Regions from separate parts of the Homo sapiens genome. Here regions 2, 3, 4, 5, 6 and 7 are each linked to region 1. The links are contacts of gene promoters, found by promoter capture Hi-C in human tissues and cell types (Jung and others, 2019). All regions are on one chromosome and are shown on one strand. Each heading gives the region's core, a stretch centred on a gene start or on the middle of the fragment in contact. The rest is flanking DNA. Distances are from core to core; before and after follow the strand shown.

Region 1 (4,200 bases), core at 904-3,403:
GTCTGCAAACAGTAGCTGATCATCTTTAGCTCAATTCAAAAGGAGGTTTTTCTAGATATTCCAACCACACCCCCCCCCAATAGCCAGCACATTTCTATCAAGTTTGATTGAGTTAGAGTTTATGAAATATTTCCTGAATGACTGAATACACACGTGCCTTCAAATACATATGCACCAACCTGAACTAGTTTTGGAAAATACTTTCCTCAGTTAGTTTTATACTTTGGGGGGTAAGCTAATGTCACAAGACACTCTATTGACAGAAATTCTTATCTACTGACTTTGCTAAAAGAATTTGCTAAATATTATTACTCGCATGAGTGTCTTTAATTTGGTTCTTTGTAAACATTGAGCATTGAAGACGGTTTGTTATTAAGGACAAAGTTATGTATCTAACTAATCTCACATTTTTCTAAGCAGCGCAAATAAACCCAGAGCCCTTCAATGGTTCACAGGTCCACAATCCTTTTATACACATTCTGAAATCCTAAAAGGCTCTGAATACTGAAAGCTGTTTTGGGAACTCATCTAGAATCAGAACCAGAAAGGCTTGAACTCAGCTGGAGGTGAACCTAAACTGGGGGTGGGGGGCCTGAAGCTTGTATGATTTTACCATATCTCACCAAATGTGATGCCTGTCTTACTGCAGAAATATTAATGTGTTTGATCACAAAGTGATGTTCTGTGTTATGTAATATACAGTAAAATCACTCAATCATCTTTCTAACAATTCTGTTTTCTGAAACACATCCGGGCTCATGGGATTTGCATAAAGCACTGTAAACCTGTACTGTGTTTGCTGTTCCGGGCTGAACGTGCTGGCTTCATCTTTCTTTACAAGATAAGGGTGATGGCTGCTACCTTGCCCCGGTGAATGCAGCAGGATTCCTTTTCTAGGTGCCTAGAGCTTTTACGGCTCACGTGCATCTCTGGCTCACCTGTGTGAGTGTCATGCTTTGACTAGATGCCACTTTGTGGTGATGAAGCTTCTGGCCTGTACCTACCCAGACAGAGCACAGCCTTGGAGAAAGGTAGCATGAAGCTGAGTGTCTCTGGGCTCCTGTCCTGTCATCCATCAGTGATGAGCAATGGGAAGTAGAAGGAGACACATTATGTTCATGGCCAAAGGTGTGACCCCAAGCCACATCAAAGGCACACCCAGCTCTTTCAACGAAAACAACCTTCTGTGGGCATGAGGGGCTCATGTATCTTAGGCCAATATCAAAGCCATATAAAGCCTGATGAATCAAGTCAGTCTTGAGCTGGGATCCCCGTTCCACCACATTTACATAGTGCCACCTTGGGTAACCCAGTTTCTTGGTAACCCACTAGAAGTAGCCTGGCTTATAATAAACTTACGACATACTTTTCACCATAATAACTTCCTTTTTAAAGTAGGTATTGGGTCTGTGATCCTGGGAGAACCCTAACCCAGGGAATTCCATAGCTCCCCTCTTTCACATCTTGGATTTTCTTTTCTCCACCTCCAGATTCCCAAGCTCTTAACTTGGAGGCAGAAGCACTGGTGGTGAGTTTAGAAATCTAGGAGAATCAGCAAGATACACAGACTCTTACAGTCTTAAGAGACCCGGGAGATGAAGGTGTAACCTTTTTCCAGCGCAGGGCTCCCACGATCCTCCAGACAGGCCCGGAGAAGCGGACCCTCATGGACAACAGCGCCCATCTCTGGTCAGAGAAACTCGACTGGCTCCTTGTGCGTCTATATGAGGGGCCTCTGGAACCTCTCCGGGGGCCCTGCAGACATGGGAAGGCGGCCAGCGTAGCCTCCCCAGCTTCTTCTCTCAGGGATTTACACCCTTGCTCTTGGACATCAGGCACAATGTGGACATCTTCAGTTGGGTACCGGGGGAGCTTGATGCTTCACTCCTGGGGTAAGGTGGGGATTAGGTGTTTGGGTGTCGGGGTGTGTGTTTGGAGGGGGTGATTTAAGTGACTCTGGAACTTGAAGCCATTCTAGAGAACAACACCCAAGCGGCCAGGAGAACCAGAATCTTTTCATCAACATCCACAAGGGTCACGAGAAAGGCTGTCATTGGCCAAGCTCCTAGGCTACCCAAACAAAGGAGGGAGGAGGGGAAGACAAACCCCGCCCAAGCCCCAGGGGATGGAGTTGGCACCAAGGACTTCTGGTCAACCCCAGGACAGCGGACAGCGGGCCGGGCACTTCCAAAGGCGCAGGAGCGAAGCAGCCCTCTCCAGCCGTGCACTGCACCTCCGCGGCCCGCGGGCGAGATTGGGGTCCCGGTGGGAAGCAGACGCGCAATCGGGGAGAAGCTCCAGCAGTGGAGGAAGAGTCCAGGGAGTTTCAGCTGGGCAGAAGGGGCGCAGAGGCTTGGGGCCAAGCGGAGTTTGCCCTGCGGGTCCTGCGCAAGGCCCCAGTGCCCCGGCTAAACCTTTGCCGCAGGATCCCGGAGCCGGCGTCCTTCAAGGAGCACAGAGGGCCCCGTAGCACGCCCCTTGCCCAGCGCCACCGACCCTTAAGCAGCGTCAAGGAAGGAGTCCCGATCAAGGACAGGGATCTGCGGCCATGGCCGAGGCCGCGGAGCCGGAGGGGGTTGCCCCGGGTCCCCAGGGGCCGCCGGAGGTCCCCGCGCCTCTGGCTGAGAGACCCGGAGAGCCAGGAGCCGCGGGCGGGGAGGCAGAAGGGCCGGAGGGGAGCGAGGGCGCAGAGGAGGCGCCGAGGGGCGCCGCCGCTGTGAAGGAGGCAGGAGGCGGCGGGCCAGACAGGGGCCCGGAGGCCGAGGCGCGGGGCACGAGGGGGGCGCACGGCGAGACTGAGGCCGAGGAGGGAGCCCCGGAGGGTGCCGAGGTGCCCCAAGGAGGGGAGGAGACAAGCGGCGCGCAGCAGGTGGAGGGGGCGAGCCCGGGACGCGGCGCGCAGGGCGAGCCCCGCGGGGAGGCTCAGAGGGAGCCCGAGGACTCTGCGGCCCCCGAGAGGCAGGAGGAGGCGGAGCAGAGGCCTGAGGTCCCGGAAGGTAGCGCGTCCGGGGAGGCGGGGGACAGCGTAGACGCGGAGGGCCCGCTGGGGGACAACATAGAAGCGGAGGGCCCGGCGGGCGACAGCGTAGAGGCGGAGGGCCGGGTGGGGGACAGCGTAGACGCGGAAGGTCCGGCGGGGGACAGCGTAGACGCGGAGGGCCCGCTGGGGGACAACATACAAGCCGAGGGCCCGGCGGGGGACAGCGTAGACGCGGAGGGCCGGGTGGGGGACAGCGTAGACGCGGAAGGTCCGGCGGGGGACAGCGTAGACGCGGAGGGCCGGGTGGGGGACAGCGTAGAGGCGGGGGACCCGGCGGGGGACGGCGTAGAAGCGGGGGTCCCGGCGGGGGACAGCGTAGAAGCCGAAGGCCCGGCGGGGGACAGCATGGACGCCGAGGGTCCGGCAGGAAGGGCGCGCCGGGTCTCGGGTGAGCCGCAGCAATCGGGGGACGGCAGCCTCTCGCCCCAGGCCGAGGCAATTGAGGTCGCAGCCGGGGAGAGTGCGGGGCGCAGCCCCGGTGAGCTCGCCTGGGACGCAGCGGAGGAGGCGGAGGTCCCGGGGGTAAAGGGGTCCGAAGAAGCGGCCCCCGGGGACGCAAGGGCAGACGCTGGCGAGGACAGGGTAGGGGATGGGCCACAGCAGGAGCCGGGGGAGGACGAAGAGAGACGAGAGCGGAGCCCGGAGGGGCCAAGGGAGGAGGAAGCAGCGGGGGGCGAAGAGGAATCCCCCGACAGCAGCCCACATGGGGAGGCCTCCAGGGGCGCCGCGGAGCCTGAGGCCCAGCTCAGCAACCACCTGGCCGAGGAGGGCCCCGCCGAGGGTAGCGGCGAGGCCGCGCGCGTGAACGGCCGCCGGGAGGACGGAGAGGCGTCCGAGCCCCGGGCCCTGGGGCAGGAGCACGACATCACCCTCTTCGTCAAGGTAAAGCTCGCTTCCCTCAATTCTTAGGACGACCCCCTTCCATTCGAGGTCTTGGTCATCTCAGATCCCAGAGGGACGCGCAGGGAGGAACCCTTGGTGGTATCCTGATTGTCATCAGGCGCTTCCATGCGCGGGCGGTAGGCGGGACAGCCGGGATTTCCCGGAGAAGAGTTTCCAGGGCATTTGCGGGAGGACTCAATGGTTTGGAAGCAAAGACTTTGGGGGTGGGGGCGACGGGGAGTGCGATGGGGGCCAATGAGGATGTGGGGTTGTGGGTT
Region 2 (4,200 bases), core at 452-2,951, 1.2 Mb after region 1:
TTTTGTTAGTTTCAAATGAATGACCTCATCATTGGATTAATACCTAAACCAAAAGGATGAATGGCTTGTGCTACTTCAGCTGGGGAGTCCAGGAACCTGGAGGATGCTGCGGAGCCATTCAGAGGGATCTTGGCATGTAGCATGTTCTCAAAACTTTGAAGCAGCAATGACAATGAGAAGAAGGAGGAGGCAGAGGAAGCAGTAGAGGCTCTAATGAAATTCATTGCCTGAATATTAAAAGCATTCAATAATGGGCTCAAATCAATCCATTGATGGTGCATCCAAAAACAGCTATAAAGGAAAGCTAGGGATATTTGTGCTATGTCATCATATTTTGAAGGTTAACACTATGAATAACAGCCTACCCTTCTTTACTAAATATGTTGGTGCCACTTAGAATCCTGAGAATCTTAGGGGTATTTTTCAACTGAAATGGGTATTTTTAACTAGAAACTCAAGTGGTCTGTGGCCACAAATTGAGAAGACCTGGCCTAGTGAACCATGTTGGCAAACATTCTGCCTATGCCTATGAAATAATAGATGCTCAAGGCATCATTTCACATCATAATAGCAGAAATCTAGTTCTTCCAGGGCTAAAGCAGAAGGAGGTAAGGGTCTGATGCTCTGACTTGAGACACAGCCACAGAGAGAATGATTCACATGTGTGTATCTTAAATCAGTACTCACTGCCCCCATGCAACTCTTGACCTGTCTTCTGTCAAGGTTAAGAGCACTAATGAGGCCAGGCAGTGGCTCATGCCTATAATCCCAGCACTTTGGGAGACTAAGGCAGGCAGATTACCTGAAGCCAGGAGTTCAAGACCAGCCTGGCCAACATGGTGAAACCCCATCTCTACTAAAAATACAAAAATTAGCTGGGCATGGTGGTGGGCACCTGTAATCCCAGCTACTTGGGAGGCTGAGACATGAGAATTGCTTGAACCTGGGAGGCGGAGGTTGCAGTTAGCTGAGATCGCACCACTGCACTCCAGCCTGAGGACAGAGTGAGACTCCATCTCAAAAAAAAAAAAAAAAAAAAAAAAGCACTAACAAGTGACAGAAAGGCAGGCTGGCTGTCTCCTTTCCTAAATAAAAATAGATCCATGTGCTTTGGATTTCTCAAACACAGATGTATAGTTAGCTTTTAAATTTTTTAAATGTTCTGAATTTAAGAACCTGACTTTCTCTGTCTGTGGGAGTATCAACTGCAGATACAGAATGCACTCAGATCTCACTTTGGATTTACTCAGGTCCCAGTAATGAGCTCCTGTGCAATGCCCAGGGCTATGCTCTGAAGATGCAGGAAGGGAAGATCTTAAACTACATGATTTTGGAAGGCAAATGTAGATACCCACCAATCTCTACTACAATGCTGCTTTATGTGGTCCCCAAGAACCTCTGACTTGATGAGTACTGATGGGCCCCCAAAATAAACTCGGGGCTAATGTCGAGCAGGAAACAAAGTGCATTAACCTGTTGGGTAAAATTAATTAATAATTATCTCTCTCAACACGAAAGAAGCCCTGCTAGGAATTTTTATTTCACTAATTTTTTGGAGACAGAGGCTTACTCTGTCACCCAGGCTGGAGTGCAGTGGCATGATCTCAGCTCACTGCAGCTCCCAGGTTCAAGTGACTCTCGTGCCTTAGCCTCCGAAGTAGGTGGGATTACAGGCACCCACCACCACACTCAGTTAATTTTTGTATTTTTAGTGAAGATGGGTTTTCACCATGTTGGCCAGGCTGGTCTCGAACTCCTGACCACAAGTGATCTGCCTGCCTCGGCTTCCTAAAGTGTTAGGATTACAGGCATGAGCCACTGTGCCCAGTACTGCTAGGAATTATCTTGGCTGTCTTTCTGACATTCATTTGTTGTGAGACAGAGGCTCACTTGTCCAAACCCAAAGAATGGACTCAGAGACCTGGAAAACAGCAAAAGCGAGACTTTTAATGACAGTCTTGCAAGATCGAGTGTCTGATGGGAAGGCACACCCAGCACAGTTACAACAAGCAGTTTATCCCCTAGTGTGCAGGTCCCTCCCCCAGTTCCTCATAGGCTGAGAACTATGGGGTCACAATCTTCCCAGACGTCGCCTATTGGTTGTTGGGTTGGGGCTTTAGGTGGTTTCTTTAAGGTTGTCTTGCTGCATTTTGTTGCAGCCCACAATGCATTACAATCCTAGTCAGCTCAGGGGCTCTTTAAGTATCTGACTTATGTCCTAAGTAGCTGGGCAGCTCATAAGAACAGACAAAGCAAGCTATTTTGCAGGCTAGTAAACTTTCATCTTAGACTAAACTTTTTTGGATTAGGTGAAGGCAACTAAGGGACGGGGGTGGGGTGCCAACAAGCAGGCATCAGCTATCCAAGCAGGGGCCTAGTATATCCTGTTTTTTTCTGTAGTTTGCTGACCTAAGCCAATTTAAGTCACTTTGTCTTAGAAATGGACCACTATATACATTATTTCCTTCATTTGTGAGGAAAGATTATTATTACAAATAGAAATTGCTAATATTTATTGACCACTGACCTTCTGCACTGCACCAATCTTACATATATTAACTCACTTAAATTCTCAACAATCTAGTGAGGGTTTACTATTTTGCATCCTAGATAATTAAGGGACACAGAAGTTAAATTCCTTGCTCAAAATCTTATAGGTGACAGAACAAAGATTGAAACCCGAGCACTCTGGATCCTGGGCATAAACTCTTAACCACCCCTCTCATTTCCTCTGAAAAATTAACAGATTCACTCATAGTGGGCCTACTTCTATTTTTAAGTGTAAACATTTTTGTCCTCAGATATTTTGACCCTCATAAGTTAACCATGCTAGGATTTTCTTGTTTTGTCTTTCAGAGCAAGGACACAGGCTCATCCAATGTTTTAGTACACTGCTACCTAAAATCAAAGAAATAAGATCTTATTTGTTCTAACAAAAGACCTGCTTCACAATAGAAATAAAAATGGTCTCTTTGTTCATTTACTGAACAAACCCAAAAACATATGTTTTTGGGACAAACCCAAAAACATAGCTCAGTCTAGTAAACTTCTCCAAAATATGCATGTTATACATTTTTGAGATACCTCTTGTGTTATATATCTGGTGGGAAAAAAAAGGGAGCTTTGATCATAGCACATGCATCAACAAAAAATTTTCACTCTAAACCTCAGTTTGAATATGGTTTAAAAGAAAATTGTAAAGCGTTTCCTCTCCCAGTGTTAACCAAATAGAGGTTGTTGGAAAAACAATCCTGGGAACTGGGTGTGGGTCTGGGCCCTGAAACTAGATTGCACCAGCACCAATTTACATGAAGGATTACATAAAGTTTTGGACATGGTACTGAGCAATTTTGCCAGTTTCAACTGTCCAGCATCTTAACCTCATTTCCATATTTGGGGACTTCTGACACATACTACCCACCATGAAAGCCTATCACTACAGCAGCTGAAATGCCAGGGCCCTGGGTAGAAGGTTGGTCACATGACCTCTCATGGCCAATCAGGTTCCCTGGCTGGGACTTTGACTTTGGGCTGAGAGCCCCAGCTTTAATTTTCACTACATTTATCATTTCATCTATTGTGTTTCCTCCACAGACAAATGTAATGCTCCATGAAGGCAGTCAACTTTGTTCACTGCTGTATTCCTAGTGCCTAAAATAATGTCTGACTCATAACAAGAAAATATGTACAAATACATATTTCTTGAATGAATAAAATATGTCTTGTTATCTGAATCAATTCTTTTAATTTCTAAGATCTCAAATTCTCTTGTATAATAGCTGATTCCTAATTTATGGATATGGTAGCCACGCTTATTTCCAAAACATGATATTTACATTAATGATCTTCTATTAGCTCTATAAGCTCTGATGTGGTTTTGCTGTGTCGCCACCCAAATGTCATCTTGAATTGTAGCTTTCATAATCCCCATGTGTCTTGGGAGGGAGCCTGTGGGAGGTAATTGAATCATGGGGGGCAGTTTCCCCCATACTGTTCTCATGTTAATGAACAAGTCTCACAAAATCTGATAGTTTTTTAAAGGGGAGTTCATCTGCACATGCTCTCTTGCCTGCCACCATATAAGACGTGCCTCTGCTCCTCCTTCACCTTCCACCATGACTGTGAGGCCTCCCTAGCCATGTGGAACTGTGAGTCCATAAAACCTGTTTTTCTTTATAAATTACCCAGTTTGGGGTATGT
Region 3 (4,200 bases), core at 465-2,964, 1.2 Mb after region 1:
ACAGGTGCTGGAGAATATTCAGAGCAGCAAGAGCAGAGGTGTGGATGTGGGACCTCCTGAGACCCATAACATGGACCCAGAGTAAATCGTTCAATGGGATGGAGCATAAGGTGGTGAAACAGAAAGGTGAGAGGCAGATTTAAATGATGTATATCCTTGTCACTGTTCTTCAAAACTAACTTCCAATTAATATGCTGTATGGTAAACATATCTGAGAGCAATAACGTAGACTCCCTGAGACTGACCCTGTATGGCAGACACATCTAAATGTGTGCTCTGAGCTAGGAAATCTGACAGCGCCAAACACATAGATTTGTTCCTTTTCTATGAGGAACATCTGAGCTCCGAGCCTGGCCCATGGAACACAGGCCATACTGGGAATCAAGGCCCTTTGTTTTGGGGTAAGTGAAAGTTGCCAGTTGAAGACTGTCGGAGGGTGCTAAAAGAAAATGTGATGTAAGCTGCATGCCTTTTGCAAGCAGTTGCAGTTATAATGCTCAGCCTGCCCCCACTAGGCCATGCAGTTCTCCTGTCTAGCCTGCTACCACTGGACTCTCTCCCCTGCACGTAAGTCCCCAGTAAAACCCATGTCTCATTTGCTGGCTCTGGGTCTCTTCTTCAGCCTCTTGCATCTAGTACCACACCCACTGGAGTCGATACGGATTCGACACAACACATGCATACAGAGATTTAAGTCCCACCATGTATAATTCTATCTTATAGCAGTTTCAAGAAGTCTGTACCCCAGGAGCATTGAAGGGGGATCAAATCTTACTAATCGTAGGAAATAGCTTCATCTAAAGAAGAATTTCCCAATTGTTGGAGCTTTTCTTAAAAGGCATGGGCTGCTGACAAAGTAATGTGCTCCCTGTTGCTCAATGCATTCAAGCAACTGGATGCATTCAAGATGGGCTGGATGACCATCTGCCTGGAAGGTCAAAGAGATTTTTACCTTAGTAGGAAGTTGGTGGGAGGACTTTTAAGGAGGCTTCCAATCATGACAGATTGTGATCTTTTGGGTAAAGAACTAAGACTTCACCTGGGTTTGAACCCCATCTCTGCCCCTTACCAGCTGGGTGACCTGGGCAAAGCATTTAACCTCGCTGTCCCAGCTTCTTCCATAGTGAAATGGGGACATGTATCAGTGTCTACCTCATAGGGTGATTGTGAGGATGAAACGAGTTGTTCCATATCAAGGGTCATGGACATTATCAATGTTGAATAAATGTTGGTCACTGTTCTTATGATGGCGTTGTTATTATGGATTGTGACTCCCCATCTTTCATTTAAGGAGATGCCACTTAAATGGGCTCCACAACACAACATTCCTGCAAGCACAGACCAGGCACAAGATACCTGGTATCCTTCTGACAGCTCTTTTTTTTCCTGTATCAAAATGAAGCATAAGATGAATGGGAAAAAGATGAGACACAGACTTTAAAAATCAATATCCTTATAACTATTCTTCAAATATAATCACCAATTATATTAATTATATTAATACTTATACAGAAGTGTAAGTCTCATCTATCTTATTAGATAGAATTCCAATGTGAATCCACCTTCAACCCTTTGAACAGCACTTCTGGTGAGGGAGGGTGGAAATTCACACAGGGGACCCTTCCTGCGTTTCCACCCTGGCTCCCAGATGCCGCATTTTTCAGAGAAGTTTGCCTTGAACTTCCATGCACCTCCTCCTACCCCCTGCAAATTTACACACAGAGCACCTTTGTGAGCCGAAGACTGGGCACGGACAGAGCACAGAGAGGGCTTGTCAAAGTAAACGAGTTGATTCATGTGTAAAAATCCCCCGACTGCGTTTACAGATTAAATTGGAAAAACTTTCAGCTGCTTTTGGTTGAAAATTCCACTCAAATATTTCATTGGATGCCTGTGCCTTCGGCACATGGAGTTCCAGTGCTTGCACAATAGTCTGCACGTGCAAACACAAAGCTCGGTGGTCTGTGAGTGGCATGTGGCTTCAAAAGGTCTGTGTCATCTGATGGCCAATGGTTTCCTGCATATTTGCTGTATAAGCACATCCCTGTCCACGGATGTGCTGAATTAATGATAAGCCCACAAAGTTTAACAAGGTTCAGGTGGAGGGCTCTCGAATTTTTGAACTTCACAGCACTAGATGCTTGAATGAATCTAGCAACAGTAAATTCATTACTTTGTTGGCAGCTTGTGCCTCTTAATAAAGAGCTCCACTGATTAGGAAGAGACAGCTGTAGATCTGCATTGTTCCATGTAACAGCCACCAACCACTGTGGCCTTTGAACATTTAAAATGTGGCTAATCCAAACCAAGATGTGCTGTACAGGACCTGAACTCAGCTCTGGGTCAAGCAGACCCGACAGGTATGTACAGAACTCTCCACCCAAAACAACAGAATATACATTCTTCTCATTGCCACATGGCACTTACTCTAAAATTGATCACATAATCAGAAGTAAAACACTCCTCAGCAAATGCAAACAGAACTAAAATCATAATAGTCTCTCAGATCACAGTGCAATCAAATTAGAACTCAAGATGAAGAAATTCACTCAAAACCACATAACTACATGGAAACTGAACAACCTGCTCCTGAATGACTCCTGGGTAAATAATCAAAGTAAGGCAGAAATCAAGAAGTTCTTGAAAACCAGCACAAGACAAGTTCTGGCCAGGGCAATCAGGCAAAAGAAAGAAATAAGAAGTATTAAAATAGAAAAAGAAGAAGTCAAATTATCTTTGTTTGCAGATGACATGATCTTATATCTAGAAAACCCCATTACCTCAGCCCAAAAGCTTCTTAAGCTGATAAGCAACCTCAGCAAAGTTTCAGGATACAAAATCAATATGCAAAAATCACTAGCATTCTTATACATCAACAACAGGCAAACAGAGAGCCAAATCAGGAATGAACTCCTATTCACAATTGCTACGAATAGAATAAAATACCTAAGAATACAGCTAACAAGGGAAGTGAACCACCTCTTCAAAGACAACTACAAACCACTGCTCAAGGAAATCAGAGAGGACACAAACAAATGGAAAAACATTCCATGCTCATGGATAGGAAGAATCAAGATTGTGAAAATGGCCATACTGCCCAAAGTAATTCAATGCTAGTCCCATTAAACTACCACTGACATTCTCTGCAGAATTAGAAGAAACTATTTTAAAATTCAGATGAAACCAAAAAAGAGCCTGAATAGCCAAGACAATTCTAAGCAAAAACAACAAAGCTGAAGGCATCATGCTACCCAACTTCAAATTATACTACAGTAACCAAAACAGTATAGTACTGGTAGAAACACAGACACATAGACCAATGGAACAGAACTGAGAACTCAGAAATAAGATTGCACACCTACAACCATCTGCCCTTCAACAAACCTGACAGAAACAAGCAATGGGGAAAGGATTCCGTTTAATAAACGGTGCTGGGAGAACTGGCTAGCCATCTGCAGAAAGTTGAAACTGGACTCCTTCTTTACACCACATACAAAAATTAACTCAAGATAGATTAAAGACTTCAATGTAAAACGCCAAACTATGGAAAAACCCTAGAAGAAAATCTAGTCAATACCATTCAGGACATAGGCATGGGCAAAAATTTCATGATGAAAATGCCAAAAACAATTGCACCAAAGCAAAAATTGTCAAATGGGATCTAATTAAACTAAAGAGCTTCTGCACAGCAAAACAAACTATCATCAGTGTAAACAGAAAACCTACAGAATGGGAGAACCATTTTGCAATCCATCCCTCTGACAAAAGTCTAATATCCATGGTCTACAAGGAACTTAAACAAATTTACAAGAAAAAAATACTAAAAAGTGGGCAAAGGACATGAACAGACACTTCTCCGGAGAAGACATACATGTGGCCAAAAAGTGTATGAAAAAAGGCTCAACATCACTGATCAACAGAGAAATGCAAATCAAAACCACAATGAGATACCATCTCATACCAGTCAGAATGGTGATTATTAAAAAGTCTAAAAACAACAGATGCTGGTGAGGTTGTGGAGAAATAGGAATGCTTTCACACTATTGGTGCGAATGCAAATTAGTTCAACCATTGTGGAAGACAGTGTGGCGATTCCTCAAAGATCTGGAGGCAGAAATACCATTGGACCCAGCAGTCTCATTACTGAGTATATACCCAAAGGAATAGAAATCATTCTATTTTAAAAATACACACAAATAT
Region 4 (4,200 bases), core at 1,194-3,693, 1.2 Mb after region 1:
ATGTCTGGCTAATTTTTGTATTTTTAGTAGAGACAGGGTTTTGCCATGTTGGCCAGGCTGGTCTTGAACTCCTGATCTCAGGTGATCCATCTGCTTCTGCCTCCCAAAGTGCTGGGATTACAGGCGTGAGCCACTGCACCCGGCCATCAGCGTTTCTTAAAACGCCTACTCAAACTGATATGGTTTGGCTGTGTCCCCACCCAAATCTCATCTTGAATTGTAGCTCCCATAATACCCACGTGTGGAGGGAGGGACTTGGTAGGAAGAAATTGAATCATGGGGGCAGGATTTTCCTGCTCTGTTCTTGCAGTAGTGAAAAAGTCTCACGAGATTTGACAGTTTTATAAAGGGCAGTTCTTATGAGATCTGATGGTTTTATAAAGGGCAGTTCCCCTGCACACGCTCTCTTGCCTGCCACCATGTAAGAAGTCCCTTTGCCCTTCCTTCGTCTTCCACCATGCTTGTGAGGCCTCCCCAGCCCTGTGAAACTGAGTCTATTAAACCTCTTTCTCTTTATAAATTACCCAGTCTCGGGTATTTCTTCATAGCAGTATGAAGATGGGCTAATATATCAGCATTAAGCAGAAGAAAAGCTCTTCCGCAGGATTTACATGTGGATGAACCTCGAAAACACGACGCTAAGTGAAAGAAGTTGGATACAAAAAGCTACACGTTGTATGGTTCCATTTGTATGAGCTATTCATAAATCCACAAAGACAGAAAACAGACTGGTGCCTGTAGAAGCTGAGGGGGAGGAGGGAATGGGGAGAAATTGCTTGATGGGTCTGGGGCTTTACTTTGGAGTGATGGAAATGTTTCAAACTAGACAGAAGTGTTGGCCATACAACATTGTGAATGCAACCAATGCCACTAGTTTGTTCATTTTAAGATGGTTAATTGTATGTTATTTGAATTTCACCTTAATAAATATGTGTGTGTGTGTGTGTGTGTGTGTGTGTGTGTGTGTGTGTGTGTGTGTGTGTGTACACTTCCTTCTGTGGCCAATGTCAGAAATATCACAAATACAAAATTCCATCTTTTGTCTTAGGATTTTAGACCAGGATATTTTGAAGTTTGAATACTGTGATGGTTGACTTTGAGTGTCAACCCCTCTTCTGCTGAAAAGGAAACCCACGTGGTTTGGCATTTGACTAGAATAACTGGGCTGCCCCAGCTGTGTCTGTAAGGTGTTTCCAGAGGAGACTGGCATTTGAGTCCACGGACTGAGAGGGAAGACCCCCTTGGTGTGGTGGGCACCATCTGATCAGCTGGGGACTCTGACAGAACGGGAGGCAGAGGAAGGGCAAATTTGAGCTTTCTTCCAAAGCCAGGACATCCTTCTTCTCCCACCCATGGACATCACAACTGCAGGTTCCCCAGCCTTAGGACTCTAGGACTCGCACCAGTGTCCCCCAGTCTCTTAGGCCTTCATCCTGGAATTGAGAGTTACAACATTGGCTTCCTTGCTTCTGAGACCAAGGAACTTGAACTGAGCCATGTCACTGGCTTGCCTGGTTCCCCAGCTTGCAGATGGCCTATCATGGGACTCTGTAACCTCCATGATCAAGTGAGCCAATTCCCCTAATAAATCCCCTCTTATATCTCTCTATGGACAGATAGGTAGATAGATAATTGATATATATTAGATAGATAGATAATGATAGGATAAATAAGATAGGCAGATAGGCAGACAGATAGAATAGATAGATAAATTGATAGATGGATGGATATGTAGACGGATGGATGGATGGATGGCTGGATAGATGCACCACAGCCAGCTGTGGGCTGCTACTTGTTTGAGTTGGCAGGAGTCTATCATCCTCCAGGATCTGTCTGGTTTCTCCCGGGACCAAATTAATTAAATGGTGATATGAGAGGGGCCATATTCCTGTATCCTATAGGTCTTTAAGGATCGTTCTAAGCTTCAAGATCCAAAAGATAGATTGATGGAGAGAGAGAGAGAGAGAGAGATGAATGGATGGATAAAGACAGATCAGATAGATAGATAGATAGATAGATAGATAGATAGATAGATCCATCCATCTTCTAGAGAACTCTGACTAAAACCAATACTTGTGAGAATCCTGTATAAAATGTAGCTAGTGATCTTGGACAACCCTCTAAAGTAAGAAGGTCATGAGCCTTCTCTGCAAACAGGTTTTGACAGTGAGAAGGGAAAGAAAATAGTGACACCTGGACTCCTGGGAAGGAAAAGAAAATTCGTTTTTAGCAATGAGGTTGCTAAAAGAAGCAACTAGAAAACAAGCTACTCCAACTTCAGATCTTTGCTTGGTAAAGCCTCTACTTTCAGGTGAGTGGGGTGAGTTTTCTGATGAGAATCAAGAAGGCCGGCCTCTCTCTCTGGGAAGCTCCCAGCTTCATGGTCCTGTGGCAGAAGAAACCCAAGTCTGGAAGAATCCAGGGCCTCATCTGAGCCTTTCTCTCCAGCATTAGAAGGAAATCCACAATTGGCTGACAAGCCCGCATTCCAAACACACACCCAGTTAATGAAAACCACACACACACAAACGAGAGATAGGTTCTACCTGCCTGTGACAATCTGGAGTAGGAAAAGCACATGAAAAATAGCCTTGGGACTTTATTCTGAATACTCTGCACCTAAGGAGGAATTGAGTTTCTCAAAAATAAAGGCTTTCTGTTTACAAACATGCTGTTTTTGCCAAAGAGAATTCTTTATTTTAGGTGCTTTGGGAAAACTGCAGAGTCCTCGGGTTTGTGGCCAAAGACGCCCAAATGTTGCAATCCTAAACCTTTGGCAGCGACAAAAACATGTTGGCAAGTGGAAAGTTTTCAGCATGGGGCTTTTCATGTTGTTTTGTTTGGGTGTGTGTTTGTTTATTTGCTTGGTGCCAAAGGGTTTCCTCCACATCTTCCCAGAACCAGAGAGCATGTTGGCGCTCCACTTGGGATGTTGGCCCCAAACCACCTGCACTCCTATTGTACATCCTGTATGGTTTCAGGCCCCCAAAAACAGCCTTTGAGCTCAGGGAGACACCTCTTTCCCACCTCCAAACCCTAAGTGAAGCCTCGGACAATGAGAGGGGATGACATGAAGCATTTGGCCTCCATGGCTGTGGACTTCATGAGGGCTGAGGGCATTTCTGAATTTCAGTCTCTGATCAACCCACAGTTCTGTTGTTCCCTCTGTCTCGCCCTAGCAGGCCTCATTTCTATCTCTTTCCATCTCCCCGGCTGCTACCTGTGCTGCGGTAGCCACTTGATACATGAACTATGGCTTCCCGCCCGTTAAAACTAGACATTCAAAGACCAGCCCAGCAGAATGTGGGCACAAAGAGCATGGAATTCCCAGATAGATCTTTACATTGTAACAGAGCAGGGATGATCATCTTGAAAATCAAGGCTTTTGATTAACAAGACTTGGGTATTTTGTAACTCAGGAGGCTAAGCCTTGCCCTGGGATCTAAAGTTCTAGCCCTGAGAGAATAGAGGAGGGTCCAAGTGCCCCGCCCAGACCCTGAACAGGCCAAAAAGGGAGGAAATGCTGGGGAGAGGACCTAAGCTGGATGCAGGACCAAGAGGGTCAGCATGGAGAGAGCCAGTCAGCGCTCAACCCTGTCTGTCACCACCTGCAGATGGGGAGCTGAGAGGGAACAGAACTTGCACCCCCATTCAGTCCTGTGGATGGTCCAGGTAGCCAAGATGGCCCCTTGAGCTCAGAGCTGTTGGAGTCTCGCCTGCTAACAGTGCTGCATGAGGCCCATCCACCACTATGTGTGTGTGTCCCATCAGCACCTCACACTCAGGAAACCCACAACTGAGGGCCACTGCCTCTCTCCCCTTCTCCCCCACCTCCCCCTACTCCAACCCAGGCCCCCTTCCTAACTGGCTTTTCATGAGAGCTGCACCTTTTGAGTCATCGAAGATTCTTTGCATCGGCTTTGCAGTCTCTGTCCCCTCTGAGGCTCACTGATGGTCAGATGCTGAGCCTGGCACCTTTTCCATCCACCAATGGTGCCACTGCCTGGCTCAAGTATCTAATTTTATGTCTGTAAATGAAAACAATTTAACATTCCCCTAATTGATACCTCACCCTCAGTCTCCCCACACGAAACCTCATAACCTCCTCTCCTTGTTTCTACTCTGGCTCCTGTTTCTGTCTGCTCGCCTTTTCCCTCTCTAGTTTTCCTCCTTCTTTCCCATTTTCATATGTGTCGCCAG
Region 5 (4,200 bases), core at 1,014-3,513, 1.2 Mb after region 1:
TTGGACTGGCTTCCTTTCTCCTCAGCTTGCAGATGGCCTATTGTGGGACCTCACCCTTGTGACTGTGTGAGTCAACACACCTTAATAAACTCTCCTCTCTATATACATCTATCCTATTAGTTCTGTCCCTCTAGAGAACCCTGACTAATATGCTGTCCTAACACATCATGTGCTGATTATTCCTCGTTTTAAAAAATTGGAGAACAAAATGATCAGATGCTGATCTTCATTTTGAAAACCTCTTTTGAATGTGCTGCCTCCCTGGTATGATCTGGATGCTTGCCAGGGTGGTCTGGAGACCTCAGTCTGTTTGCTCTCCCGGGAAAAATCATGGTCACCCACTGACTTCCTCTTTTCTCACAAATAGAGGACAAGGTAGTTCTTCTGTTGTAGGTTTCATCGGGAATTTATTAATCCCCCTCCCGGAGGTGTTAGCATTTCAGTCTTGTGCCCAGCCATCTTGCAGTATTGAGAGTGGAATACAGGGTAAGTCATATCCTCAACAGTCCTTGCCAAGAACACCAAAATCTTAGCCTGTGGGTAATAATCTAAGTCTTCTTAATCTAAGTCAAAATTACCCTTTCCATCTAAACATAATACCAGCCTCTCTAAAAAAGGGCAAGCTGACCCGGTGTGGTGGCTCACGCCTGTAATCCCAGCACTTCGGAAGGCCGAGGTGGGCAGATCACCTGAGGCCAGGAGTTCAAGACCAGCCTGGCCAATATGGTGAAACCCTGTCTCTACTGAAAATACAAAAAATTAGACAGGCATGGTGGCAGGCGCCTGTAATCCCAGCTACTCAGGAGGCTGAGGCAAGAGAATTGCTTGAACCTGGAGGTGGAGGTTGCAGTAAGCCAAGATCATGCCACTGCACTCCAGCCTGGGAACAGGAGCGAAACTCCGTCTCATAGAAGAAAAAAAAAGCAAGTTTTGTCCCATCAGGGGCTGACGCAGACACAGGGACCAAAGCCCAGCCACCTCCTGGGACTCTCTGCTGTCAAACAGGAAGGTACAGATCTTTCTCCACCCATGCTCTGTGATGCCAAACTCTATTATAAAACATTTACTGGAGAAGGGTATCAAACGGGAATTTATTTCTATCACAAACAGCACTCAAATATTTCCCAGATAGTTTCTGCAATCAGTCATGTGCACCTTTTCAAAGTTTTAAATGTTTCCAAACTTTTTGGAAATGTATAGTGATTGATACAGGCCTTTAAGTTTAGTATTACTGCTCATGCCACATTTTCACCTGATTTCCAGTCTTTTGTGGTATTCTTGATTGGTAAGTCATTTGATTTTATCTTTTATTAAGGGCCTTTGAATTTAGCACAATGCTGAAATGATTCATCAATCATAATAAAAGACTTCAAAGGGATCCAAGCTAAACTTCAGGATTCTGAGGAGCATACTGGACAGTGAACTTATTGTATTTCAACTTCAGGACAATAAGCCTGGTGGAGGATTTTGCTCTAAAGACATAATGAGTATGTTAGTCACATCTAAAAATCATCTGCTGTCCGCATGTTCAGATTCATATATATGTGTATATATATAAATATAATATACACACATATGTGTGTGTGCATTTCATCTGACATTCATTTATTCTGTAGCAAGATATGTTTTAGGCTATTCTTTTCTACTGATCCATTCCCTGAGCATCAGAGGTCACTGTAAATGAAAAACAAGGTGAACTCCCTTGGGTGGGAGCCATGCTTGGCCAAATCCAGAGAAACTGTGTGGTGCTTAATTCCAGCTTAGTCTACATAGGCCCTAGTTTGAAACATAAAGTTGAAATCCATCAAGCAATTGTTTTCAAATCAACATTTCGGAAACATTTTTCAGTCATACTTACATGAATTCAAAATGTTTTCAAAGTATTGAGTGTTTTGCTGTATTACATTTGTAAAAAGGCAAAAGATAATCAGTGTGTGTTGATAATGTTAATAGAGATTTTAGAAATGATGATAGTGAAGTTTAAAAAAGGAACACCAACCAAACATAAAGAACTCTCTTTTCAAAATATCAATTTAAAATACAGGATCTCCCATGGCTTACAATGGACTCAGTAGTGAGGCACACAAACAGCAGTAAAACACATCTCTAAGGCATCCAGAAGAAAATAGATAACTAAATATCCATAATGCTGGCCAGACTGTGATACATAGCAAAATAGAAGTATTTATTCTGTAGCAAGAGATGGAGGCTGCAAAGGAAAATGCACTCTGTTCTCACTAGGGGAATCTGGAGGCTCTATACATGGTAGTTTTAATTTTTTTTTTTTTTAAACACCAGGCTGGAGTGCAGCGGTGCTATCATGGCTCACTGCAGCCTCGACCTCCAGGGCTCAAACGATTCTGTCATCTCAGCCTCCCAAGTAGCTGAGATTACAGGCGCCCACCACCACACCTGGTTAGTTTTTGTATTTTAGCAGAGTTGGGGTTTTGCCATGCTGCCCAGGCTGGTCTCCAACTCCTGGGCTCAGGTGACCCATCCATATTTGATTGTATCTTTTATTGAGGGCCTTTGAATTCAGCACAATGCTGAAATGACTCATCAATCATAAAAAAAGACTTTAAAGGGAACCAAGGTAAACTTCAGGATTCTGAAGAGCATATGGGACAGTTTCTTGTATTAGACTCCATCTCCAGCCTCCCGAAGTGTTGGGATTACAGGCATGAGCCACCATGCCTGGCCGGTAGTTCCATTTAAATTAGCTCATAAAAGGTAGGTAAGATTTCAACAACCAGGGAAGAAGACCTCAGTCAAGAACAATATGGCCATAGACTAAAGGCGTGAGACTGGATGGCACAGCTCTGAGGCAGGGTGTCTGGGGACTGAGAGCACCTGTTGCTAAGGTGATAAATTAAGATCAGATTGTAAATAGCTCCAAATGCCATGCTAAAGTGAACATTTCTCTGCAGGACACGGGTCCGGAGAAGGTTTTGAACAAAGCACTTTAGACAGATGAATCTGAGGGTAACCCTAAAGACAACATGGAAGCTGGAGAAAGAGGAGGAAAGATTCTCTAAGAGATAAATGCACTGGCTTACACAAAAAGCAGGTGGGCTTACACCTGGAAGGTAATGATGGAAACAAAAAAGAATAACCAAAATTCAGTAGTATGTCAATATCTGGTAACTGACACCATCTGGAATGAGGGGAAATGATTCAAGACTTTCCAACTGGGACAGGTGGAGAGAGAGGGGTGTAATCTAGGAAGATGGAAAATGCAAGAGCAAATCAGATTCTGAAAACAATTAAGTAATTCCTGATTCCTTTCAAATAAAAGGTGAGGCCTGATGTGAGTCTTAAAGTCTTAAAGTTCACTGGTTAAAGGGAAAACAGTGGGGGAGGGAAGCACAGTCCAGCAGGATGCAAACAGGTGAGCAAAGCCACAGGTTAGAACATGGAAGCTGTCGAGGAAGGCAAGAAAAGGGGAAGGAGGCATAAAGCTGGGCCACGTGCCAGGACCAGTGAGAGGGTGACCATGAAAAATCAGTAACAAGATCGGTGACCACTTAGACGTAGAGGATAGAGGTGTGGGGGCAGGGTGGACTGAGAAAGTCTCTCAGGTTTCAAGCTTAAGTGACTCCAGGGCTTTTGTGCCCACATTTAAAACGGAGAATAGATGTGAACAATCAAGGAAAAATGACTGATGCTGAGTTTAAGGCACCTGGGAGACGGGGGATAATTGCTTCCCAGAGACAGAGGTGCAGCGCCAAACCTGGGGAAAGGAAGACCCAGTTTAAAGATAAAAGGGTTGTTACCCTTTAGACAGCAAATAAAAACACGTGTGTAGCTGGTATCACTTTGAAAAGGGAAGAAGGAAAGCCCACAGATCTCTCTACAGACAAGACAACCAACGACTAAAAACCATTTAGATTAAAAGAAAAGAAATAATCTTACAGTAATGTTGTAAAGAGGTATTAACATCAAAAGACTAACTAGAACTAACATCAACAGCAGAAAGGACAATTTATAGCCTTATTCATTAGCATGCTGCTTACTGTTCCACTGACAATTTTAACCACCGGGTTAAGCAAAATCTTTGCCTTCCTTTTTTTTGCTTTTTGAGACGGAGTCTCACTATGTCACCCAGGCTGGAGGGCAGTGGCACGATCTCGGCTCACAACCACCCGGGTTCGAGCAATTCTCCTGCCTCAGCCTCCCGAGTAGCTGGGATTACAGGTGTGC
Region 6 (4,200 bases), core at 501-3,000, 1.0 Mb after region 1:
CAGCACTTTGGGAGACCAAGGTGGGCAGATCACGAGGTCGGCAGATTGAGACCATTCTGGCTAACCCGGTGAAACCCTGTCTCTACTAAAAATACAAAAAATTAGCCTGGTGTGGTGGCGGGTGCCTGTAGTCCCAGCTACTTGGGAGGCTGAGGCAGGAGGATCTTTTGAACCTGGGAGGTGGAGGTTGCAGTGAGCTGAGATCGTGCCACTGCACTCCAGCCTGGGTGACAGAGCAAAACTCCATTTCAAAAAAAAAAAAAGAATGAGATGATGGCATACAAATAAATCTACCACATATATTCTTTGTTTTTATGTTTTATAGGCAAACAAACATTTAGGAAGAACACACATCAAACAGTTATAAACCGTAGCCACCTGAGGAGTGAGATTAAGGGGAAAAGAGGGCTTCTGTGTTTATTTTGTGATTGTTTTGTAAGCGTCTGTGTTCTTAAAATATGTTACAGCATACGCAGGTATTATTTTTAAATATCTAAAGCCAATAAAGGTTTATAAACGCATTTGTCATCTAAGAGCTTCATTTAGAAATTATCACTATATTTTTATTTGAGGTACATTAACATATGTGTATGTATAAACCTAAGATTTAATAATATAATGTACTCACTAGACTGTGTTCATTAAAGGCAGAGTTGGTATAGTCAATTTGCTTTTTTATTTTCCCAGAATGTGTCTCAGAATTTATATAGTGCCTGGCATATTAGAAGAGACGTGTGTGTGTGTGTGTGTGTGTGTGTGTGTGTGTGTGTGTGAGTGAGATTTGCTACAAATTTCTCTAACTTCATAGAATATGATGGAACATGTACTGTGATTCTAGAATCATTTCTCTATTGCTATACACAAACCATATATATGACAGTTTTGCATATTTGCAAATGCAAATATATACACAACCAAATGGGAGAATGATCTGCATATTGTCATTGTGCTGACAAACCTGTCTTGATCACTGCTACGGTGACTCCAAATCACTGAGTGCTTCGAAAAGGACAAGAGGAATTCCATACGGAATAGGCAATTAGGTTTTGGAACAATGTGCACAGGCTGGTGTTAACTGGTTCCCGTGAGTCAGGGCCATTCCATTTTGGGGATTAAACACATCAGCAGAATGCCCCTTTCTCTGCAGCTGACAAGGGGGAGTTCCACCCCATACACTGAGGGAGAGGGTCCCCAGAATCTTCCGGGGAGTGAGGAAACAAATTCCAACCCCCAAACAACCTGATTGGAAAGGGAGTGTTTTTATATACACATGTCTCCGAAATCCGGCCAGCAAATGATAAACATCAGCTGGTGTTTAGCTAAATGTTAAAAATCTTATTGAGGCAAAAGCAATGCTAGAAAGGAACAACAACGAAAAAAGCCAGCTCAGCCTCTGCCCCACGGCCTCGATTTCTCTCCCAAATCCCAGGTAGCTGAGAGGTGGAAAGTCTAGAAACAGAATCGAACACGTCTAATCTCTTTTACAACAATGTTCTTATTTTAACCCATGTCATCAGGGGAAATGGCTGAAAATAGTGACAAATACAACATCAATAAACATAATAATAATTGATTTCCCAGAGATGAAAAATTTGAAATTATTGGCCATTTCCCCCTAGAGCATTGGTTGATTAATTTAATGTTCATCTTAGTCTTTCAAAGACATCCTCTTATGTTGATCTGCTTTGCCAGACTTTGTGATGGGTTTTGCGGTTTAGGGCCCAGTGGTTAAAGTATATTGCACAGTTCTGCAGTTTTAAAGAGAATTCTGATAGTTTAAGGATGACTGCAGCCAACAACAGCAACAACAAAAGTTAAGACACATCAAGCAATTAAATTTCCAGAGATTGGAACTGGAGTTTTTCATACAGGATATAAGTTCAGTGGCTGTACTACTCAGTTTTTCTAGCTTAAGTATCCAAGAAACAGATTTTGAGAGGTACAACCTCTATTCCCCCAGAGCACCCAACTTTCACTTAATTCAGAATCTCAACACAGAGCAAGGTGAATTTCAAGTAACTATTTTCCTTCCTCTCTCCCTTCTTTCTTTCCCTTTTCCCCTTCCTTTCTTTCTTACTCATGTTTCTCCCCTACCCTCTCTCTTCCTCATTTCCTTCTTCCTTTCTTTCTTCCTTCTCATCTTTAAACCACTTCAAAGTTTGATGTTTGTATTTATCCTGAGAGACAAGTGAAATAAGCATTATTATCCTTTTTTTACAGATAAATGAAGTGAGACACAGAGGTTCAGTGACTTTCTCAGACTTTCTTGTGACTGAATAAACAGCCCAGGGAAAGAAGTTTTGAACCTCCTGAGTTCCAGGTTAGCACTTTTTCTTTTCATTTTTTATTATACTTTAAGTTCTGGGGTACATATGCAGAATGTGCAGTTTATTACAGGTACACACGTGCCATGGTGGTTCACTGCACCCATCAACCCGTCACCTACATTAGGAATTTCTCCTAATGCAATCCCTCCCCTAGCCCCCCACCCCCCAACACACCCCAGTGTGTGATGTTCCCCTCCCTGTGTCCATGGGTTCTCATTGTTCAATTTCCACTTATGCATAAGAATATGTGGTGTTTGGTTTTCTGTTTTTGTGTTAGTTTGCTGAGAATGAGGGTTTCCGGTTTCATCCATGTCCCTGCAAAGGACATGAACTCATCCTTTTTTATGGCTGCATGGTATTCCATGGTGGATATGTGCCACATTTTCTTTATCTAGTCTATCATTGATGGACACTTGGGTTGGTTCCAAGTCTTTCGTTAGTACTTTTTCTACAAGTAGCTGGTCCCAGAGCATGTCAGGGAGAACTCCAGCCAATCCCATCAATCACAGCTCCGTCCATCAACCCTGTGAGCACAGACTGACTCTTGCATGGAGTCAGCATCTGGGTGTGCAGAGGCACCTTCACTTCTTGTCCCTTCCCAAATGCCACATCACTAGAAGTATCTACTTTATCATTTTGAACATGTAAGAGTAAACCTGCTTCCACATTCTTAGGAACTAGGAATGCATCAGACCTCTTTATCAGACCTCATCTGCACAGGTGAGCCTAAACCCCTTGTTTTGGAAATGTTTGATATGGCTCCTGGCACTGGGTGCCTGGTCCCTTCCCTTTAGGGTTTCCCTTACTTTTCCTGGGACCATTGCTATGCAGTGTAATTTCTCCTGTCTTCAGCCCCTAAGACACTCGGCCTAGTATCCTTGTCCCCATAAGTCTACCGGAGGATGGTGATTTCCACTGTCTCAAATGCATGCACTTTGACCTCACACTCATTTTTCTGCACCATCTCAGGGTCCCTACCATTGTACCCAGGAGGTATAAAAAACCTTCTGTGAAGACATATGTAGCCTTCAATTAAAGCATTTGTAATTATTTCCCAGGACAGTTATTCATCTACAAACTCATCGTCAGTGGATTTACCTAAGGAAAGCAAACAACAAGAGGTAAATCAGGGACTTTCATGAATGCAAACAGTCTTCCCTGTGACATCTTGCACAGAATAACTCTCCCTAAACAAGGGTCAAGGTGAGATGGCAGCACTGTTAAGTCATTAAAGGCCAAGCTTCCTAGGTCATGTCAGTATCACGCATCAATAAAGGACTCTGGTAAGTAAATGAAGCCATTTCTCTAAGGAATAAAAAAAAATCATCACTTTTAAATGCTTAAGAATGCATTTTGTCAACACTTTTTGATTAAGATACAGCTTTCTGAAACATATGAGAAATAAAGTAAAGAAAATCTCTTCCTTTCCTTTCCAAAATTCTGCCTTCCAGAGCAGTTGAGGCAGAGTGATGCTGGGAATATAAGAAACTCACAGAAACAGTGGGGAGGGCAGAGCTGGGGAATCGAGTTAGAGCAGCAGACACAGCCTGTGTCACTGAGCCATGGTTCCCTGCACAGGCCCCATTTATAACCTGGTCTTTAACTTTGTTTATCTTTGTGGACATTCGCAGAAGCATCTTACTTTCCAGAAGCTGGGGCCCTATAATCATTATCTGTCTTTGGAGAAAATGGGATTATGTGCATTTAATTGCTCTTCTCAGAAAGTCGATGTTGTAATAGATCACTCTTCACTGACCCTCTTCTCCAGGTGGGGCTTCTGGGTTTTCACATTTTTCCCTTGGCCTTGGTGTTGTAAAAAAAAAAAAAAAAAAACAGTAAAGGTGGGCTTCTTGGTACCAAACCTCAACCACAA
Region 7 (4,200 bases), core at 1,174-3,673, 1.0 Mb after region 1:
GGTAACCCATAGGCATATAATCAAATGCTCACTCAAAAGGCTGAATCCTTGTCTAAGCACAGAAAACTGGAGCCTGATTTCTGTGCATGAGGTGATGCACCAATGACAAACCTTTATACCAGAGCACGACTCTGAAATTGTTCACATTGTGTTGCTGTGTGACTATGGGCAGAAATGCAGACCTGGCTATTTAGAGGAGAAAGAGGAAGAAGGGCAGGATCTACATCTAAGAGCCCGTGCCCCCAATTGGCTAAGAATCACAGTTAAACCAAGTGCCTTATCCCTAGAGTCTGGGGAGGCAAAGGCTTGTCTTCCTCTCATCAAATAATATATATTTACATTCCCCTACTAACTTGCCAGTTAGAGTAACTGGATCACACTAAGAAAACTTATTTCCTTTTCTTTGATTAATAAGCTCAAGATTATAATGTATTGAAAGTGAATATATTATTGTATATTCTCCAGAGATAGATTCCCATGCAACCTGGTTATTCTTTCTTTGTTCCCCCAACAAGTCAAATTCTCTGGTCTTTTCTTCCATGTTTGATGTCCCAGGAGTCTAGCCCTATAAATGTCACCAATGGGCCTCCTTGCTCTGAGTCTTCTGCTTGGGCTCAACCAAAGGGAGGCACTGTCAGGAGATTGGGGCTGGAGGGGAGAAAGGCCAGGACACTTATTCCTCCACATCCTCTGTGCCAACCCTCAGTCTTGCCCCTAGCTGCGCTCCTCTGCCTGTAGCCCCAAGCCCCATCAGGAGAGGCCTTTCCCATACATCTCATCTACTCGCCCTGTCCCTTCAGGCCCCAGGGCACTAACAGATTTCACTGATGCTCCCCACTGGGTACACCACTGCCTTGATTCCTTTACCCCTTGACCTCTGAAATAGCTTCTTCAATGAACTCCTGGAATGGGTCATCTCTTTCCTGCCAGGAATCTGCTGGGGAAACCCTCCTATGTGACTTCCCATTCCATGAGCCTCACTGCAGAAGCCACGCACATATGTGGCGAGACAGTAGCTCTTTGTGCTATGGTCCATGGACAAGCAGATCTTTACCATGGTCAGTATTAACCCCCAAATCCCTTCCCAGAGTTCCCCCAGAGAAAGAAAAACTAACAGCATAGTTTAAGAAATTGGCTTACGCAATTGTGGGGGCTGGCAAATCTAAAATCTATAAGGCAAGCCAACAGGCTGAGGTAAGAGTCGATTTTGCAGTCTTGAGTTCAAATGCTAGAAACTCAGGCAGAATTTCAACGTTGCAGTCGAAGAAGAAATTCTGTCTCCATTCAGGGAATCTTGGTCTTTGTTCTTATGAACAAAGACATGTTATAGAAGGAAATGTGCTTTACCTAAAGTCAATTGATGTAAATGTTAATTATATCTAAAATATACCTTCACAGCAACATCTGGAGTAGTGTTTGACCAAACAACTGTCCTCTAGCCAGCTGACGCATAAAATTAACGATCACATCCATCCACCACATGGATTCAGTTTCCTTTGGGGCAAGGAGGTTTCTCTTTACTTCAAAAGCTATAAGGGCTCAGAACTCACTTATGTCCTCTGATACAGTTTGTATTCACTTGTGTTCTCTGATACAGGAGTAAGGAAAAGAAATGCCTAATTAAACAACAAAAATAACCACCTTCCTACCACCAAAGGAAACCATCCAAAAAGCCATCAGAGCCTGCACAGAGTATGACCCTGTCTTTTTCCTTTTTTTTTTTTTTTTTTATTGACACTGATTGGCTTGTGCTTGAAACTGCCCAAGAAATTTAGAAATATAGGCAATAGAATTAGAAGGAGTTTGAACTGTGACCCCAGAGATCAAACCCTGACAACTCGGTATGTTAAACTGTATTAAAATGTATGGCTTTGAAGGAAGGGATCAATATGTTTTTCTCTGTTTGTGAAGGGCCTGCACTAAATGATAGTGAGAAACAAGCAGCCCCAGAACACAGATGCAGCCGAAGGATTTCCATGGCTTGTGCTAACTCAACTTGGCTATCTTGATGCAAAGGGAAAATGTGAAGGGCTTCCAGAAAGAACAGCTGAGATATTTGCTCACTGGTTTATTTGCAAACCAAGAAAGCAGTTTTTAGTTGCGTATGACTTTAACAACCACATCACTGCCTCTTTGGGCCTGACCCAAGACACTATTTTAACTTACAGTGAAATATGACTGAAACCCAGCTTCTCAGCCTGTGTTCTATGGGAGATCCAGTAGGAGGCTGAAGGGTTTTGCAATGACTGTTGTCCTCTGCTTGCTGCCACAACCCCCATCAAGACTCCTCTCCCCAAGGTACACCCTTCCTCCCCCACCCCTTCAGAACTAAGGGAGGCAACAACTTCCCAAAAGTTCATGGCTGCATTTCCATCCCTTCGTATGAAACCTAATCAACAGTTCTATAGATAATTTTTGGGATAAACACAGAAATTGATCGTTCTGGTCTTAAAGCTGGAAACTTACATTTGTTTTATCTGAGTTCCTTCTTCAGAAAATGACCTTCAGGCCTCTCAAAGAAGTATCAAAGGGCCAGGCACGGTGGCTCATGCCTGTAACCTCAGCACTTTCAGAGGCCAAAGCAGATGGATCACTTGAGGCCAGGAGTTCAAGACCAGCCTGGCCAACATGGCGAAACCCTGTCTCTACTGAAAATATAAAAATTAGCCAGGCGTGGTGGCGCATGCCTGTAATCCCAACTACTCTGGAGGCTGAGGCATGAGAATGCCTTGAGCCTGGGAGGCAGAGGTTGCTGTGAGCTGAGATCGCAACATTGTATTTGTCTGGGTAACAAAGCGAGACTCTGCCTCCAAAAAAAAAAAAAAAAAAAGTATCAAAGAACTGAAACTCAGCAGATCACCACATCCAGACAATGAGATGTGGGGGCCCTCATTCATCATGATTGCTTCCTTGCCCCTCCCTAGTTTCTATTTTCTTACACATTGTTTGGTTTCTTTCATTTCTTCTATGCTACATAAATCCCTAGCTTTAGTCCCTCAGGGAGATGAATTTGAGACTGAGCTCCCATCTCCTCAGCTGCAGCACCTGATTAAAGCTTTCTTTCTTGGCAATACTTGTCATCTCTGTGATTGGCTTTCTGTGCAGTGAGCAGCAGGACCTAGACCAAACCCCTTGTATTTCAGTAACATTTACAACCAACAGATGAGGAACCACATGCCAAAAATGTAAAACCATTGAAGTCCTGGGGGAAAAAATCAGTGCCACTAATCCCAGAAATCTTTGTACCATCTCCCAACAAGAATTATTCTTTAAAACGAGTTCACAGAGGAGTTATGGGGTGGCTTTTTCACAATGTCCTCTGCAAATCACGATGTCATTTCCTTTTCACTTGCTCTTGTTCCTGCCTGCATTATTTTCTTTCTTTCTTTCTTTCTTTCGTTTTTTAAGACTGCTTTCTGCCTCTGTGGTCATCTTCCTTTTTTTTTTTTACCATTCTTTTATCAGTTTTCATTCATTATGATCTTAAGAAGCCTCAGTGTGGGCTGTAGTCTCTCTCTCTCTCTCTCTCTCTCTCCAGAAAAGCATGCTTTCTTAATGGAAAAGTCTATTCAAATGCAGAGGACCTCTTTACCACGTGCATCTGTTGCAAAATCACCAACTGGAGTATCCAATTATATTAAAAGGAATTCCACGGAACTATTATCCTAATAGATGGAACACTCCTCCAATAATCATCCACACGAGCCGAAGACCCAGATTCTCTCATCCATGCACCAAAACAAAGGACTTTTTTAATAAGAAGCAAACATAAGGGAGCTGCGAGACATATTAAATGCAAGTGGTTTGCTTTTGTGCTGTAATTCCTTAGATAAATAGAGCTCAAAACTTACTTCCGGAACTCCAGAGCTTTCCTTCCTCTGTGTAAGTTTTTCTTTTGTTATTAAGATGGCTTTGCATGGTTTCAGCTTGCACAGTCATTTTCATGGTTTCACACCACCAGGCAAAGTGAGGACAGCCCATACCTACAGTGTTGGAGCTACCATGAGAACAAGATGGACTTTTCTTTCTTCCCTTTGTGAAATCTCTGCAACTACTTGCTAGAAAGGAGCCAACAGGAAAGAGATGTTGGAAATACAGGGAGAAATGCTGAAGAGCACTTTGGAACAGGTACTTTCCCTTCTCTTCATGCAGAGAAGCCATCCACTGGACATGGCCGGATGATAGCTCTTATGGAAATCC

Evidence for each region. Contacts are between HindIII fragments. The study calls those that stand out against the background at their distance.
Region 2: a contact is called between a fragment that was not itself captured here and the fragment with the promoter of CLIC6 in region 1, in 1 of the 25 tissues and cell types used here (dorsolateral prefrontal cortex).
Region 3: a fragment that was not itself captured here is called in contact with the fragment with the promoter of CLIC6 in region 1 in 1 of the 25 tissues and cell types used here (dorsolateral prefrontal cortex).
Region 4: a fragment that was not itself captured here is called in contact with the fragment with the promoter of CLIC6 in region 1 in 2 of the 25 tissues and cell types used here (H1 embryonic stem cells and lymphoblastoid cells).
Region 5: a fragment that was not itself captured here is called in contact with the fragment with the promoter of CLIC6 in region 1 in 1 of the 25 tissues and cell types used here (dorsolateral prefrontal cortex).
Region 6: a fragment that was not itself captured here is called in contact with the fragment with the promoter of CLIC6 in region 1 in 1 of the 25 tissues and cell types used here (spleen).
Region 7: a fragment that was not itself captured here is called in contact with the fragment with the promoter of CLIC6 in region 1 in 1 of the 25 tissues and cell types used here (dorsolateral prefrontal cortex).

What each region holds. Positions count from the first base shown.
Region 1 is chr21:34,666,841-34,671,040 of GRCh38, forward strand. It overlaps CLIC6 (chloride intracellular channel 6), which reads left to right and starts at 2,154. Exons shown (of 6, transcript NM_053277.3): 1 at 2,154-3,922. The coding sequence starts at 2,549. RefSeq lists silencers at 2,447-2,886, 3,787-3,866. The HindIII fragment of the contact is 4,429 bases long and covers 793-4,200 here.
Region 2 is chr21:35,906,465-35,910,664 of GRCh38, forward strand. No RefSeq gene overlaps it. Among named protein-coding and RNA genes, the nearest start is that of LINC01436, 97 kb to the right of the region's middle. The HindIII fragment of the contact is 5,202 bases long and covers 1-4,200 here.
Region 3 is chr21:35,881,148-35,885,347 of GRCh38, forward strand. No RefSeq gene overlaps it. Among named protein-coding and RNA genes, the nearest start is that of LINC01436, 120 kb to the right of the region's middle. The HindIII fragment of the contact is 7,484 bases long and covers 1-4,200 here.
Region 4 is chr21:35,841,646-35,845,845 of GRCh38, forward strand. No RefSeq gene overlaps it. Among named protein-coding and RNA genes, the nearest start is that of MIR802, 120 kb to the left of the region's middle. The HindIII fragment of the contact is 5,825 bases long and covers 1-4,200 here.
Region 5 is chr21:35,825,809-35,830,008 of GRCh38, forward strand. No RefSeq gene overlaps it. Among named protein-coding and RNA genes, the nearest start is that of MIR802, 110 kb to the left of the region's middle. The HindIII fragment of the contact is 5,199 bases long and covers 1-4,200 here.
Region 6 is chr21:35,707,519-35,711,718 of GRCh38, forward strand. No RefSeq gene overlaps it. Among named protein-coding and RNA genes, the nearest start is that of MIR802, 11 kb to the right of the region's middle. The HindIII fragment of the contact is 5,563 bases long and covers 1-4,200 here.
Region 7 is chr21:35,688,584-35,692,783 of GRCh38, forward strand. No RefSeq gene overlaps it. Among named protein-coding and RNA genes, the nearest start is that of MIR802, 30 kb to the right of the region's middle. The HindIII fragment of the contact is 3,880 bases long and covers 484-4,200 here.